Linked DNA regions of Homo sapiens: region 2 is linked to region 1. Evidence: promoter capture Hi-C in human tissues and cell types (Jung and others, 2019). All regions are on one chromosome and are shown on one strand. Each heading gives the region's core, a stretch centred on a gene start or on the middle of the fragment in contact. The rest is flanking DNA. Distances are from core to core; before and after follow the strand shown.

Region 1 (7,172 bases), core at 655-3,154:
AAGCCTTATAGAGGTTTATTGACTTGCCTGAGATCACACAGCTAAGCGGTAGGTTGTGAACTGAGCTCAGCCTGTCTTCACAATGTTCTCAAATGCCCATGCATTAACTGCCCATGTTGGTACAAAGAGTCAACACCGGAGGTCAGATCTTTAATTGTACAGTTACTTTGCTGAATCATGTCAGACTTTCCTACATCAGTGGTCTTACTATGGTCTTACTATATTGGTAGGTTACAAAATGGCTTTAACTTGGAGGAAATGAAGATGAAATAGACTGTGGTTTTTCTCATTAAGATTCAGAAGGAAGCACTCATTCCTTGATTCTTTCTGTATTGTCTCAAAGAAAAAACAAAGGCAAAATGAACTTGGTCCTTCAGACCTTCCAAATCTGCAACCACTGCCCTCCATTTGCACCTGGTCAGCCAAATAAGCATGTGGAATGCAGGAAGGCCTTTCCCTGGGTCTAAATTCCTCCCTCTCGGCTATTCCTGTAATGCAAGTCCATTGCTTTTGATGCAAAAGCCTATCAGGTCCCGAAAACTTGCCCTTAAAGCCTATGGTTAAAGGTAGGAATAATTGAGTTTCTCATTACATTAATTTTATTTTTATTTTTTATTTGAGAAGGAGTCTGGCTCCGTCGCCCAGGCTGGAGTGCTGTGACAAAATCCCGGCTCACTGCAACTTCTGCCTTGTGAGTTCAAGCGATTCTCCTGCCTCAGCCTCCAGAGTAGCTGGGACTACAGACTCCTGCCACCACGCCCAACTAATCTTTTTGCGTTTTTTAGTAGAGACAGGGTTTCCTCATGTTGGCCAGGCTGGTCTCGAACTCCTGACCTCAAGTGATCCACACACCTCAGCGTCCCAAAGTGCCGGGATTACAGGCGTGAGCCACCACGCCCGGCGAGTCTCTCACTAGGTTTCTGTGCTATTACATCATGCACTTGAAAGTGTTGTTTAATGTGTTCAAGGAAAAATGATTGGTGAGGACCTGAAAAAATAGCTATTGATCTATTACATTAATTCTTATTCTAATGGAAATAATTCACTTTTTAAAATTTTCTTTTCACTGTAAGGTACATTTTCCCAAGAAAGTAATTTGCCCGGGCTGGAGGGCAGTGATCTCGAACTCCTGGGGCTCAGGTGATTCTCACACCTCAACCTCCCAGGTAGCTGGCATTACAAATGTGTGCCACCATGCCTGATGAATTTTTTTATTTTTTTGTAGAGATGGTGTTTCGCCATGTTGCCCGTGCTCTTCTCGAACTCCTGACCTCAAGGGATCCACCCACTTCGGCCTCCCACTGGGACTACAGGTGTGAGCCACCACATGCAGCCCCAAGGAAGTAATTCTTGATGAGTCTACAAAATCCTAATGGAGGAAAGCCCTATATTTTATCATCGAGTATCTATTTCCGCAATCTCCATAAATCCCACTGAGAAAACTACTTCCAAGCTACACTTGAGCTGCGCAGACACATGAGTATGAGTAGACACACTGGCTTGAATGGTGCTGTGGCACCACACACACACACACACGCAGTAACTTTCCTTTTTCTCCAATTTTTTTTTTGCCCTGAAAACTAAATTGAATCCATTTTCCAGAACATTTAGTGAATTTCAGAGTTCCAAATCAAAGAATTTTTCACAAAGACCCCAATCTTCTCAGAGTTTAAATTTAAAAAAAGAAAGCAGGCTAAACCTGTAGTTAAGTTTGACACACTCCAAAAAGGCAAATCACTAGGAAATGCAGCAGAAATTAAATAAATAGAAAGCCTAACATGAGGCACAAGAACAAGAGGCCACCTTATGCTGTGGCCAGCAGAGGCATTCAAACATTCCGTCAGCAGGATTCCAGCCAACCTCCGAAGCTCACTTTTATAAGCCAGCCCCAGGCATCCCAGAGCAAGATGTAGCTGTGTAGTCTCCTTCCATAGCTGCTCTAAGGGGGCTGGCAACATGGCTCAGCAGGCTTGCCCCAGAGCCATGGCAAAGAATGGACTTGTAATTTGCATCCTGGTGATCACCTTACTCCTGGACCAGACCACCAGCCACACATCCAGATTAAAAGCCAGGAAGCACAGCAAACGTCGAGTGAGAGGTAATGGGGCTTCTCAATCAAGCAAAATTCTAGGCTTAGACAGTGTGGGGAGGTGCTGGACAATGTTAATTTTCAAACTCCTCCAGGAGACTATCTTCGGTGATGGCACCATGCCATCATCCCTATATGGCATTTCAGGGGATTAAGTGAACTTGTAATGCTCTGGGATAGTTTATTTTAAAGAAACCAGGCTGCTGGGTTTTAAAAAAAAACAACAGGGAAAAAATTTGATAGTAAAAGAATTCTGTGTTGTATATTTTTTGTTAGGTGGGCTTAAATAGAATGTGCTTCAGAGGAAGCTCAAGTGGATTTCTGAAAATCTGGTGTTATTAATATGGGGCAAGAAGAATGTATTAACTGAGCACACTGTTTCACTAGTAGATATTGAGTAACTCAATTCAGTTATATTTTAAGATAACTATAATCTTATTCAATGTGTAGCAGAGGATAGAGATTTTGGTAATGGTGACTTCCTGTTTTGTCATTAGTTATCATTAGCTGTATTTCCATATCCTTGGCAGCATAAGGACAACCTATACCATATATTTAAACTTTTTCATGTCAGAGACATTGAATCTCTCCAACTTAAAAAAGTCAATATGCAAAGTCATCTAGTATTTGAAGGCATTGTGATGCAAAACTGAATCTCCCAGGAACCTCAAATTTTGAGTGACTTGAATTGGGTTAACAGGTTAAAGAAATTGAAAAGAACAATGATGATAGCGAGGTGTTTGCAATACGTTGAAACCTAAGCAAAAGAAAAAAACAAGACAGAGGGTCATGTTTTATCACATCCTCTGCATCATTTTCATTTCAGGATATTTCAGATTATGACTATTTCCTTATTTTCACTCCATTAGTAACAACACACACATACACAAATTTCAGCAAGGTTACAGTCTATTTCACATGACAGATGGCTGGTGGGTAAAAAGGGGTCTTGTGCTTTAAGGATTATAAAGTACCATTTTTTCAGGGACATTTATTTACAAAATTTAGGTCTGGTGCAAGGTTTCTTTTTTTTTTTTTTTTCTGAGACAGAGTCTCGCTCTGTCGCCCAGGCTGGAGGGCAGTGACACAATCTTGGCTCACTACAAGCTCCACCTCCTGGGTTCACGCCATTCTCCTGCCTCAGCCTCCCAAGTAGCTAGGACTACAGGCGCCTGCCACCACGCTCGACTAATTTTTTGTATTTTTAGTAGAGACGAGGTTTCGCCGTGTTAGCCAGGATGGTCTCGATCTCCTGACCTCGTGATTCGTCAGCCTCGGCCTCCCAAAGTGCTGGAATTACAGGCGTGAGCCACCGCGCCCGGCTAGTGCAAGGTTTCTTAAGTGGAATCTTTTTTCCTTAAGAAATACTGTACTTCTTTCGGTGAAAGATTAAAATATTTCTCATGAGTAGATGAAACATATTGCTGAAGATGGTATCGAAAGGAGAGGGGAGAGAGAAGATACTGGGTGACATGGTACATTTCTGTAGCCAGCGTTTCTTCACTGCTGGATGGAGTGGCACTCCTCGTGAGAGTGGCGATCACCCAGTAGGAATGTGTGAAGAGGGTCTGAACATGACTGAGTGTGCATGTGGGTGCTGTGTGGGTGTTTCTGAAGTAATCGCAGCTTAGGTCACATCCAGGTTTTCCAGGGGCCTCCCTCCCCTTCCTCCTCCCACTCTCTTCTCTCTCCCTACCTTCTTTCCCACTTCTTTACCCCCTTCTTCCCCACTGCCTCTGTCATAACCACATGTGCATGCACATGCTTTTATTTAAAAACAAAACAAAACAAAACTGACTAGGTACACACCTCTTAAATGTCATTCCCCCAGTATAGTTTTTGCTACTTTTTGCCATTAGGTCCTAGAAAGTAGATTCTACAGTAGGTGAAGCAATAAACCTAAACCGATCAAGCAATTATATCCCCACCCATCCATATACTTTTAAAATAGTTTAAGTACCTTGAAATATAATAATACCAGTGTTAAAGAGATCAAAAGTGAAAGCCATCTTCTCTCTCCCAATCCTCACCACAAAATTATCCACTATTAACTATCAGGTAATACTATTCCCAGAAGTTTTGTGTTTTGTTTTTTGTAGGATTGTTTGTTTTGAGACAGAGTCTCACTCTGCCACCCAGGCTGGAGTGCAGTGGTGTGATCTCGGCTCACTGCAACCTCTACCCACCAGGTTCAAACAATTCTAGTACCTCAGCCTCTCAAGTAGCTGGGACTACAGGTGCTCGCCACCATGCCCAGCTGATATTTGTACATACATCTTTTTTAGTATAGATGGGGTTTCACCATGTTGGCCAGGCTAGTCTCAAACTCCTGACCTCAGGTGATGGGATTGCAGGCATGAGCCATCATACCCAGCCTATTCCCAGAGTTTTTAAAATGCACAATTAAAATACATATTTTTAACAAAATAAGAATTGGCTATGCAGAATGTTTGGCTAGGCAAATAAATTTATTTCATCTATTAAACCTTGGATAGTTACCAGTGTAAGCAATACTTTATTCATTTTAACAGCTGCATAATATTCCATTGTTTGGATGGGTCATCACTTAATCTGATCTCTCCCAATACATCTCTTTTTGATTCAATAGCCCCAAGTAACTGCTTTGCACACATACTGCTCCCCATGTTAGGATGTTATGAGACATTTCCAGAAGTAAAATTGCAGGTTAATTATACTTTCTAATTGTCCCTCCAAATGATAACACCAATCCATCTTCCCATCTTCTGTGTATGGGAGTGCCCATTCCTATGTATTTTGACAGTCCAACATCATATAATGGTTTTACTGGCCATGTCTTCTGGGAATGACTTTTGTGTTTCTACACTGTGTCTACCTCTGGAGAGCAACAGTAAAATGAAAGGGAGCCTTCTGGGGGACTCAAAATAGCAACCGAAGAATTTAGCTTCAAACACAAGATCTCTCTGGTACTTGCTTCATAGGTCTCAATTTATGTGTTGCATTCATGAATAAAATATGACTTTTCCAGCTCAGTAGTTGTTCCACATATTCCCTTTGTTTGTTGTACATAAAAGACATCTATATCAGCTACAAAGGATGGAAGCTACAGCCAAGTCCCTGGACAATGAATTTCATAACCATCTCCCAGGAGCCTAATATCAATTCATGTGTCTTCATGTTAATTACAATGTTTACAATCTCCCAGTAGAGGCCACTTATTTAAGGAGAATGGAGCAGGAAGCTGAGAGGGATGGGGGATGACATTTTTAGAGGTGACAGCTTATACCTTGGAAGAAAGTGTTCAGCAGTCTTTGCAAGCCCGGCCCCCACCAGCTGATGAATTTGCATTCTGAATGCACCCTTACATTTTTTCTGGATTAAATGGTCACACAGGTAAAAATCTTTAGGTTATAGTATTTCTGAGCTGAGCCATGGGATGCTTTGAGAACTGATGTGTAGCATTAAGTAAAACAGAGGCAGGGGCCACCCCTGGATATTCCAGAAGACAGCTTCCTAACCCAAATGAGGAAACATCTGGCTTATGAAGCACATGTTTAAGGGGACAGTGAATTAGCACATGTGAATTTTAGACTGTCCTGAAAAATCCAGTACAGAACATAGACTTCCTCCATGGAATCCCCACAAAGAAGCAGCTGGGAACAGTTCATACCAAGCTTTAAGTATCTTCTCTGTCTGGGGCCATGTGCTCGGGACCAAGAAGGTAGAGGCAATCACTGTGCAGAAGCAGGTAAGAGGGATGAAATGAGAACAGGCCTGGAGCTGGGCAAATTTAAATCCCAATTCTTCACTTTACTAGCTGGGTGACCTTCAGCAGGTGAATTCAGCTTTCCGGGACTCTTTCTTCTGCAGAATGGAGACAATGATTGTGTCTCTCTCAAAGCACTACTGAAAGAATTGATCTCTGACAAACAGTATGTGGAAGCTTTTAATAATTTTTGTTATGATTTATAATTCCTGCTTTTGAAGACCTCACAAGCTGCCAATCTCTAAGAGAATCCTTATTACACCTGAAATTTCAATTTATCCAAGGCTTCTTGTTTTCTGCCACTTACTTATAGCCAAGATTGGTCAAGGACAGCTATAAAGATCCTTTAGCCTCATCCAGGAACATACAAGACTTAAGTTGCTAATACCTAATATAGACGTATTTCTATATGAACCTTTAGCACTTAACCCTGCTAGTAGCCACCATACCTGAGGCATGTGTTGAGTCGGAACACTGGGGACAGGGGACCTGGGGACCCAAATCAGTCAGAGTATGAATTCTGCCATGTATCTTTTGAGACACTCTCATTGGACTTGTCCTCATTCTTCAGTGGGAATCCAATTTTTCTCCCTTCATAGCTATGTTTGAAGAGCAAGTGAAAACAATTTTGTATACCATAAAGTGTGTATTCACTAGACAATATTATGAACACCTATTATGTACCAAGTATCATGTTAAGCATCAGAAGAACCAAGAATAATAAGACAGATGAAATAAAGTAAAATAGAGAAAAGAAAATATACAGAATACTCTATAAAATATGGAATAAAATAAAATGTGAACTGAGACTAGAGAATGAAGAAAAATAAGTTTCAAAGACAGATTAGCAGAAGGGATACTAAATTATAGTATAACCAGGAAAGCCTTCTCAGAAGAGGAGATATTTAAGCTTGCTAAGAATACAGGAAAGCGCTGGAGCAAGAGTGATCCTAGCAGAAGGAACACACAGGGAAGATGAGATTGAGCTCATTCTCAGATGACCCTGAAAGTCAACAAGCCTAGAGTCACAGGATGTGACTGGAGAGACAGAAGGAGCCTCATCTCACAGAAGGACCTTCTAGTATTATGATTGCCATGAAGCTCTTAAGAATCTTCCTGTCCAAGTTATTTTCTTTTTCTTTTTTTCCTTCCTTCTTTCCTTCATTCATTGTTTTTTTGTTTGTTTGGTTTTTTTTCAGACAGAGTTTCACTCCCTCACCAAGGCTGGAGTGCAGTGGAATGATCTTTGCTCACTGCAACCTCTGCCTCCCAAGTTGAAGCAGTTCTCATGCCTCAGCTTCCCAAATAGCTGGAATTACAGGCATTCAACACCATGCC
Region 2 (7,238 bases), core at 407-2,906, 160 kb before region 1:
TCATTCAGAGATGGCCACGAGTTAGGTTTTGGATCAGTTGAGTGTGATGTGTCGCTTTTGGGACAGCCAGGTGGAGACAAATGCCAAAACGATAGAGACCCAAGTCCAGGACTCAGTGGGCAGCTTGGGACCGGAGATTAACACATGCCAATCATTTTGGACACTCTGGCATTCATAGCACAGTGCAACCAGTACAGAATAGAAATTTGAAAAATAGTTGAATGAATAAATGAATATCCTATTTGCCTAAGGACAGAGGGCGAAGGGAATACAGGGAGACTGGAACTAATTGTAATTTCCCATCCCAGTAGTAAGAAGGTTATCTCAAGCGCTGTCCATAAGGAGCTATAACTATGACATATCTGAGGCCAGCAAATTTTAGAGAATTGCTGCATTGGTTGCTGATATTTACCCTCCCTAGAAAAGATAGTCCTCTCTTTGCTTTATAAAATCTAGAAGGCAGGAGAATTAAACAAGTATCAATGCTATTCTTAGGACAGAAAACTATAGCCTGTCCAGAGTCTCAGGTTCATGCCCATATTCTGAAATGTTGACCTCCAAGGGAGTGTGCCAGCAACATGTCTATTTTAGGTAGGAAGTTTAAAGCCTGCTTTGCTTAAAATGTCAAAATAAGTAGACAGCATAACAATGGAAAGTGGTAATAAGTGGAAACCAGGAGACCTTACTTTGAATCCCAGATTTGCCTCTGAAAAAGTGGGTAACCTTAACCTTTCTGAATGTCTTTTCCTTTATCTATAGAGCAGTCAGGGGAGGGGGTAATTGGATGATCTTCCAACTCTGACATTCTGTGATTCTCTCAGTGTTGCCTTTAATTGCAACGGGTGATAAGATGACATTTCCATAAATTGACCTGCCAACCTGATTTAGTCCGCCAGCATGAAGACATGAAAATAAGATGATAGGCAGAAATTAACATCACAGATGACGCTGGTAGAATATTTTCCCTCCTTAAAATGGCAGATGGAACACCAGAAAGAGACAACACTTGGCTTTAGAATGCACCTTAGTTACCAGAAAACTGGGTTTTACTGGAAAATGCCTGAATATACATGACCACAACATTTTGTCCAATGACTTCAAGTTTGACCATACTGAAAAACGATATGGAAAAATAAACCTGCTCCTAACTGCATTTGTGATTTCCCCTGGACCACTTAATATTTAAAACTTGTGTTGACCTCTTCTCTATATGCCTGGACATCTCGGCAATGGATATAATAAGCCCCTAAGGGGGAAAGGTAATTAGGATTTATTATCTAAGTGTCACATTTTGTGCCAGGTCTTTGACCTGTGTTGCAAAATACCTTATTTACACTTCCCTGTAGAAGATGCTGTCAGCCACATCCTATCTTTTCTGCACTTAACATGCCGAAGGTTGCTTAGGACTTCTGTCTGCTGTGGGAGCCCACTTGACTGGAAGAAGCCAGATAGGCACAAGAATTACTATTGCAGAAGCAGCCCTCAACAAGTATCAGATGCAAATGTGCTGGATAAATACTCCGGCTTCCTTGCTCATGGTTGGGATAACTCAGAGGCGTATTCTACACTTGCTCACAGGGTTCCCCAGAGGGATTGAGCTCCAGTTACACATGGTAGATATGGCCTTGATAACACATCTTTTATTGGCTGCCTTCTTTTACTGTCTTAATACCTTGTTATTTCCGGAGATCATTGTCCAGGTAAAATACCTACATCCAAATCGTTATCTTAGGTTCGGCTTCTGGGGTACCCAAACTAAGACATCTGCAAGAGCGCTGTGAAGTAGGTGGCATTGTAAGATATCAGTTTTTAAGTCTTGGTGCTTGGATTCGCCTGATTCCCATTGACTTTCCTCTATGCCAGTGATTCTTAACCACAGGACATTTTGTCCTTCCACCAAGGCGACACTTTGCAATGTCTGGATACATTTGTGGTTGTCACAACTGGGAGGATGCTACTGGCATGTAGTAGGTAGAGGCCTGGAGGGCTAAACATCTGACAATGCATAGTACAGTCTCCTACCACAAAGACTAATCCAACCTTAAAAAGGCCCCCCGGGCACAGTGGCTTGCGCCTGTAATCCTAGCACTTTAGGAGGCTGAGGCGGGTGGATTACCTGAGCTCAGGAGTTCGAGACCAGCCTGGGCAACACGGTGAAACCCCATCTCTACGAAAAATACAAAAAATTAACCGGGCATGGCAGCATGTGCCTGTAGTCCCAGCTACTTGGGAGGCTGAGGCAGGAGAATCGCTAGAACACAGGAGGTAGAGGTTGCAGTGAGCCGAGATCGCACCACTGCACATTGCACTCCAGCCTGAGTGACAGAGTGAGACTCCATCTCTAAAAAAAAAAAAAAAAAAAAAAAAGTCAATAGTGCCGATGGAGAAATCCTGCTCTACACCCAGCAAGACTGGCTATGATCTGGTGGCTCCTATGTGTGACATAGCTATTGTCTTTTCCTTCCAGGGTCAAGCTGTGGCTCAGCTGTGTTCCACTGTCCCCAACGTGACTGTCTTTGGAACAGCCTCTACTTTCAAGCATGAAGCAATCAAAGACTCTGTGACCCACCTCTTTGACAGAAATGCAGACTACGTGCAAGAAGTTAAAAGGTAAGATGTTTGCTTTTGAAAAAGCACCAGGCTGGCCCTTGCTCTGCTCTCAAAGAGCAGTAGCACTTATTTAAAAGAGGGATAATAATAATATGTAGCAAACATATATTGGGGGCTTAGTATTATTAGCTCTGTGCCAAATATTTCACACGCATTAGTTCATTTAATCCTCTTAACCTCACTATTATCACCAAGGAACGAATCGGCTAACTTGGAAAGTTAATGTATTAAAGTTACGCTAGCTCCTATTTGACCATCTTAACACATGGAAGTTTATTTCTCATTCATTCACATGATAGCTTAAGGTGGATATTTGGTGGATGATCTTCTGTAAGAGCATTCAGAGACCCAGGCTCTTTTCATCTTATGGTTCCACTATTGTCTTGGGTCTAAAGGTCCTTTGCTTCTAGCCAACAGATGGGCAGACAGCACCAAAGGGTCATGAATAGGAGGTTTTATGGGCCAGTCCCAGAAAGAACACACACCCTTCTCATAGTCTAGCACTACTGCTCAGGTCGTTGGCTACGCCTTACTGAAAGCAAACTGAGAAACCTTGTCATTGGGTGCACCCAGAAAGGCCTGGCACTGGCAGTAAAGGGTGGAGCCTGGAGTCAAGCCAGGCATTTCAACTTCGGAGCCCGTGATTTTCCTGTATAGATAGCACCTCTCTGAACAGTGAAGCATGAGCCAGAATTATCCATAGGAAGAAAGGGGCAGGGAGGGGGCTGCTCTGGGAAAGGAAAGTCGTGTGCATGCATACTGAGGAATGCAAGAGCCTCAGAGGCTGGGAGAACTACAAGAAGGCTTACTGGGGTGCAAGTCCAGGGATGTCTTGTTATCTCATCTAATTATAGGTGTTGGCAAAGGGACACCTGGGGGGAAAGGGAAGAAGGGGCATGAGGTGAGGCTGAGCAAGGAGACAGGTATCAGATGCACATAAAGACCATGTACACCAATCCAGCAAATGTGGACTCCAACCTGGGTGTGACCAAGAGCCACTGACAGACTAAAATGGGGCTATGATTGATTTGAGTTTTGAACAATCACTGGTGGTGCAGAGGGGATGGATGGGTAGAGGGAGGCTGGGGCTGCAAGATCATTTGCTGGCTGTTGCAGTCACCTGGGGGAATGATGGTTTATAACCTGTGATTCTGAAGTTATTGATCATGGCCACATGTTTGTCAGCACAGGGAAGCAGATGGAAACCCAGCTGCCATCATGGTTTTAGATGATTTTGTGTGTCTCACTCTGGCTATTGCTCTGGGCCCCAGGCTTGTTCTCAGGGTCCATGCCACTCAGAGCTTCCGAGAGGATTCAGATTTGGGCCAGAGCCATTGTTTCGGCATTCTCATTTTCCAACACAAAATTGTTACGTACAAAGGTATTACGTTGTCCAGATAGAATCATAATAAAGAAACAAGGCTGGGCACAGTGGCTCATGCCTATAATCCCAGCACTTTGGGAGGCCAAGGAGGGCAGATCACTTGAGCCCAGGAGTTTGAGACCACCCTGGCCAACATAGTGAAGCTCGATCTCTACCTGTGCCCCCCCACAAAAATACAAAACGTAGATGAGCATGGTGATGCATGCCTGTAGTCTCAGCTACTCAGAAGGCTGAGGTGGGTGGATCGCTTGATCCCGAGAGGTAGAGGTTGCAGTGAGCTGAGATCATGCCACTGCACTCCAGCATGGGTGACAGACAGCAAGAGCCTGTCTCAAAAGGGAAACAATTTTCTTCAAATCACAGATTAAGATGGGAAAACTGAAGGACAAGTGGATGGGAGAGCTGGTTATTTGAGGTGATAGTTTTAGAACAGATTTGGTGAAACTTGGGAAGTTTCTTGAAAAGGAGGGGGTTCTGATGGTCTTAGTTTTCAGATTTATTTTTCAATTTTGAATGCAGAGCATTGCATATAATTTAAGGTTGTCCCAATAGTTCCAGCAGGATGTGAAAGGAAAGCTTAAAGCTAGATGTTAGAAGTTGACCCTCTGTTTCTCAGATGTCTAGAGGCTGCAGGCTAATTTTGAGGACATCCATTTGCCCAGTTCCATAGCTCTCAGGTAATTCTTCTTATCCTTTTTTTTTTTTTTTTTTTTTTTTGAGACGGAGTCTCGCTCTGTCACCCAGGCTGGAGTGCGGTGGTGCAATCTCGGCTCATTGCAAGCTCCACCTCCTGGGTTCACGCCATTCTCCTGCCTCAGCCTCCCGAGTAGCTGGGACTACAGGCACCCACCACCACACCTGGCTAATTTTTTGTATTTTTAGTAGAGACGGGGTTTCACCATGTTAGCCAGGATTGTCTTGATCTCCTGACCTCGTGATGCGCCCATCTTGGCCTCCCAAAGTGCTGGTATTACAGGTGTGACTGCGCCCGGTCAGTTCTTCCTATCTTTAACTTGACTCTCTTAAGCTGTGGTCTGGAAAATGAACTATCGTTGTCCCTTCAGTCATTGTTTCTTTGACTTCCTTACGTGTATTTTTGCAAGCATTCTTTCATGTACGCATGAATACAATTGCTTAATACATCTGTGCTTTGTGTCTGTGATGGCCTGGAGACTGTGCCAGAGCCAGAGATCCAGCAATGCCATCTTGAGAGCCACTGTCCTTGTGGAATATAGAGTCTTAACGGAGGGAGAGGGGACAAAAAATAAAACTATAAAGAGAAATAACTGATTCACATTTTCGACATGTGCTCTGGTAGTGAAATGCAAGGTGCTATCGAATACTTACTGATGGAGAAATCAGAAACACTGTCAATCGCAGAGTGGGATTTTGGCTGAGAATTGAGGGATGAGAAGTTGGCCAAAGGAAGAGCATTTCTGACTAGCAGGGATGCCATGGGCTAGGATCCCACATCAGGAAAAGCTTGCTGAACTTATGAACCTGAAAGGAGGCCAGTGCAGCTGGCAGGATGTGGGGAGTGGGAAGAGAAGGGAGATGGCATCTCTTCTGAAAAAGTAATAGCCCATAACCAGAGAACTCCTGCCTGCTCCATTTCCTCAGCATCCTTCCCATCCTCTATCTTTCCACTGCCCTAGATCTACTCTCTTAGCCCCCACATCACTGGTGTCTGCTGATGTCAGAAGAACAGAAGGCATTTGAGACCCACCTCACCCTCACCTTCCTTCAAAGGTGACTTCCCACAATTCATTGTGTTTTTAAATAGAGACCTTGGGATTACACTCAGAATGCCCAGGAAGTTACAGATACGTTTACACAACCCTCCGTCCTAGCAAACCTACCCTCAGGAAATAAGAAGAGCAAAGCTACAGGTACAAGGCTGCCTGTTGCAGAGCCAAACCCTGCTTCTGCTTCATTGTAAGTGCTCAGCACATGTTGACAGAGTGAATTATAGCATTGTCTGCAATAGTGAAAATTCAGAACAAGCCCCTACAATCAACAGAAGGGAAATAGTTCAGTCGATTATGCCACACCCACATACTTGAGTATTGGGCAGTCCCTTAAAAAATGATAATTATGAAGACAGCCACAAAATGAAAAAAATGCCCATGGTAGCACATTGCGTGAAAAAAGCAGAATGCCAGATTCCATCTACTCTGTGATCACAGCTTTGTACAAATTCTCGGTGCATGTAGACTTAAAATGAAAGGAAAGGGAAAATATCCAACTGCCAACATGCGATAGGAGTGGAATGCAGAGTGATTTCTCTTTATTTTTTGATCACAGATATTGTTACGCTATTAGGTGTACAATGAACCAGAAAAAAAAAAAAAGATAAAATTTCTTGAGATGAAAACTCTTTTATAAGCCAGTCAATCGGGAAGCCTCCTTTGAACACATTCTCAGCCTTGAGGCAGGTGTTGTAAAGGGAATAGAAAAAAAAATATTTATGACACAGACCTAACCTTTACATCCGTTACTTTCTCTCTCTTTAGGAGGAGAGAGATGATTATGAGTGAAACCAAGCCAAAGCGTTAGAAACCTTGAGTTGTGTGTACCTAACTGCAAGGGCTTTACAAATAAGGAAAAGAGAAAGATCAGAGAGAGCACGTCAAGATGGACAGCCCCTCAGGTGCACTTGAAGGTTGCGATCGATTTCAGTAGGTGGAGGGGGAAGCGTGAGAGAATCCACACAAGGGAATCTTGGACAGAACAGGGCAGATAATAATAGCCACGCTTTGTTGCTCTCCTGCCATCCTGCTACGAGTTCAATTAGACCATTTTCTGTGCACCTGAGACAATCCTGCAAGGTGAACATTCCTCATTTTACAGATAAGGAAATTGAGAGGTAGGAACAGATTTGGCCTTGGAGGTGTGTGAGTCTGTCAGCTTTCTATTCTGCAAAACTCCTCTTGGTTTACAAGAGGACTCAAGGAAACTTTTGGGCGTGAAGCATATGTTCATTACGTGGACGGTGATGAGGGTTTCACAGGTGTGAACATATTTAATCTCTCACCAAATTGTACACTTTAAATATGTACAGTTTACTGTATGTCAATTATATCTCAATAAAGCTATTAAAAAAACCTGCCTTTAAAAAAATCAAACAACATTTTAAAACTTCATTGGGTGGAAATGGGTACACAATATCATCTCAGACCTTTTGTTCATTCATTCATTCATTCATTCATTCATGTAGAGATGCTTCTCGACTTACAATGGAGTT

The links. The method cuts DNA at HindIII sites, captures the fragments that hold promoters and counts their contacts. A contact is called where the count stands out against the background at its distance.
Region 2: a fragment that was not itself captured here is called in contact with the fragment with the promoter of CLEC3A in region 1 in 3 of the 25 tissues and cell types used here (aorta, liver and pancreas).

The regions. Positions count from the first base shown.
Region 1 is chr16:78,020,644-78,027,815 of GRCh38, forward strand. CLEC3A (C-type lectin domain family 3 member A) reads left to right here and starts at 1,905. Exons shown (of 3, transcript NM_005752.6): 1 at 1,905-2,098. The coding sequence starts at 1,984. The HindIII fragment of the contact is 19,144 bases long and covers 1-6,377 here.
Region 2 is chr16:77,860,281-77,867,518 of GRCh38, forward strand. VAT1L (vesicle amine transport 1 like) reads left to right here. Exons shown (of 9, transcript NM_020927.3): 4 at 2,468-2,610. Among named protein-coding and RNA genes, the nearest start is that of VAT1L, 75 kb to the left of the region's middle. The HindIII fragment of the contact is 6,734 bases long and covers 1-5,023 here.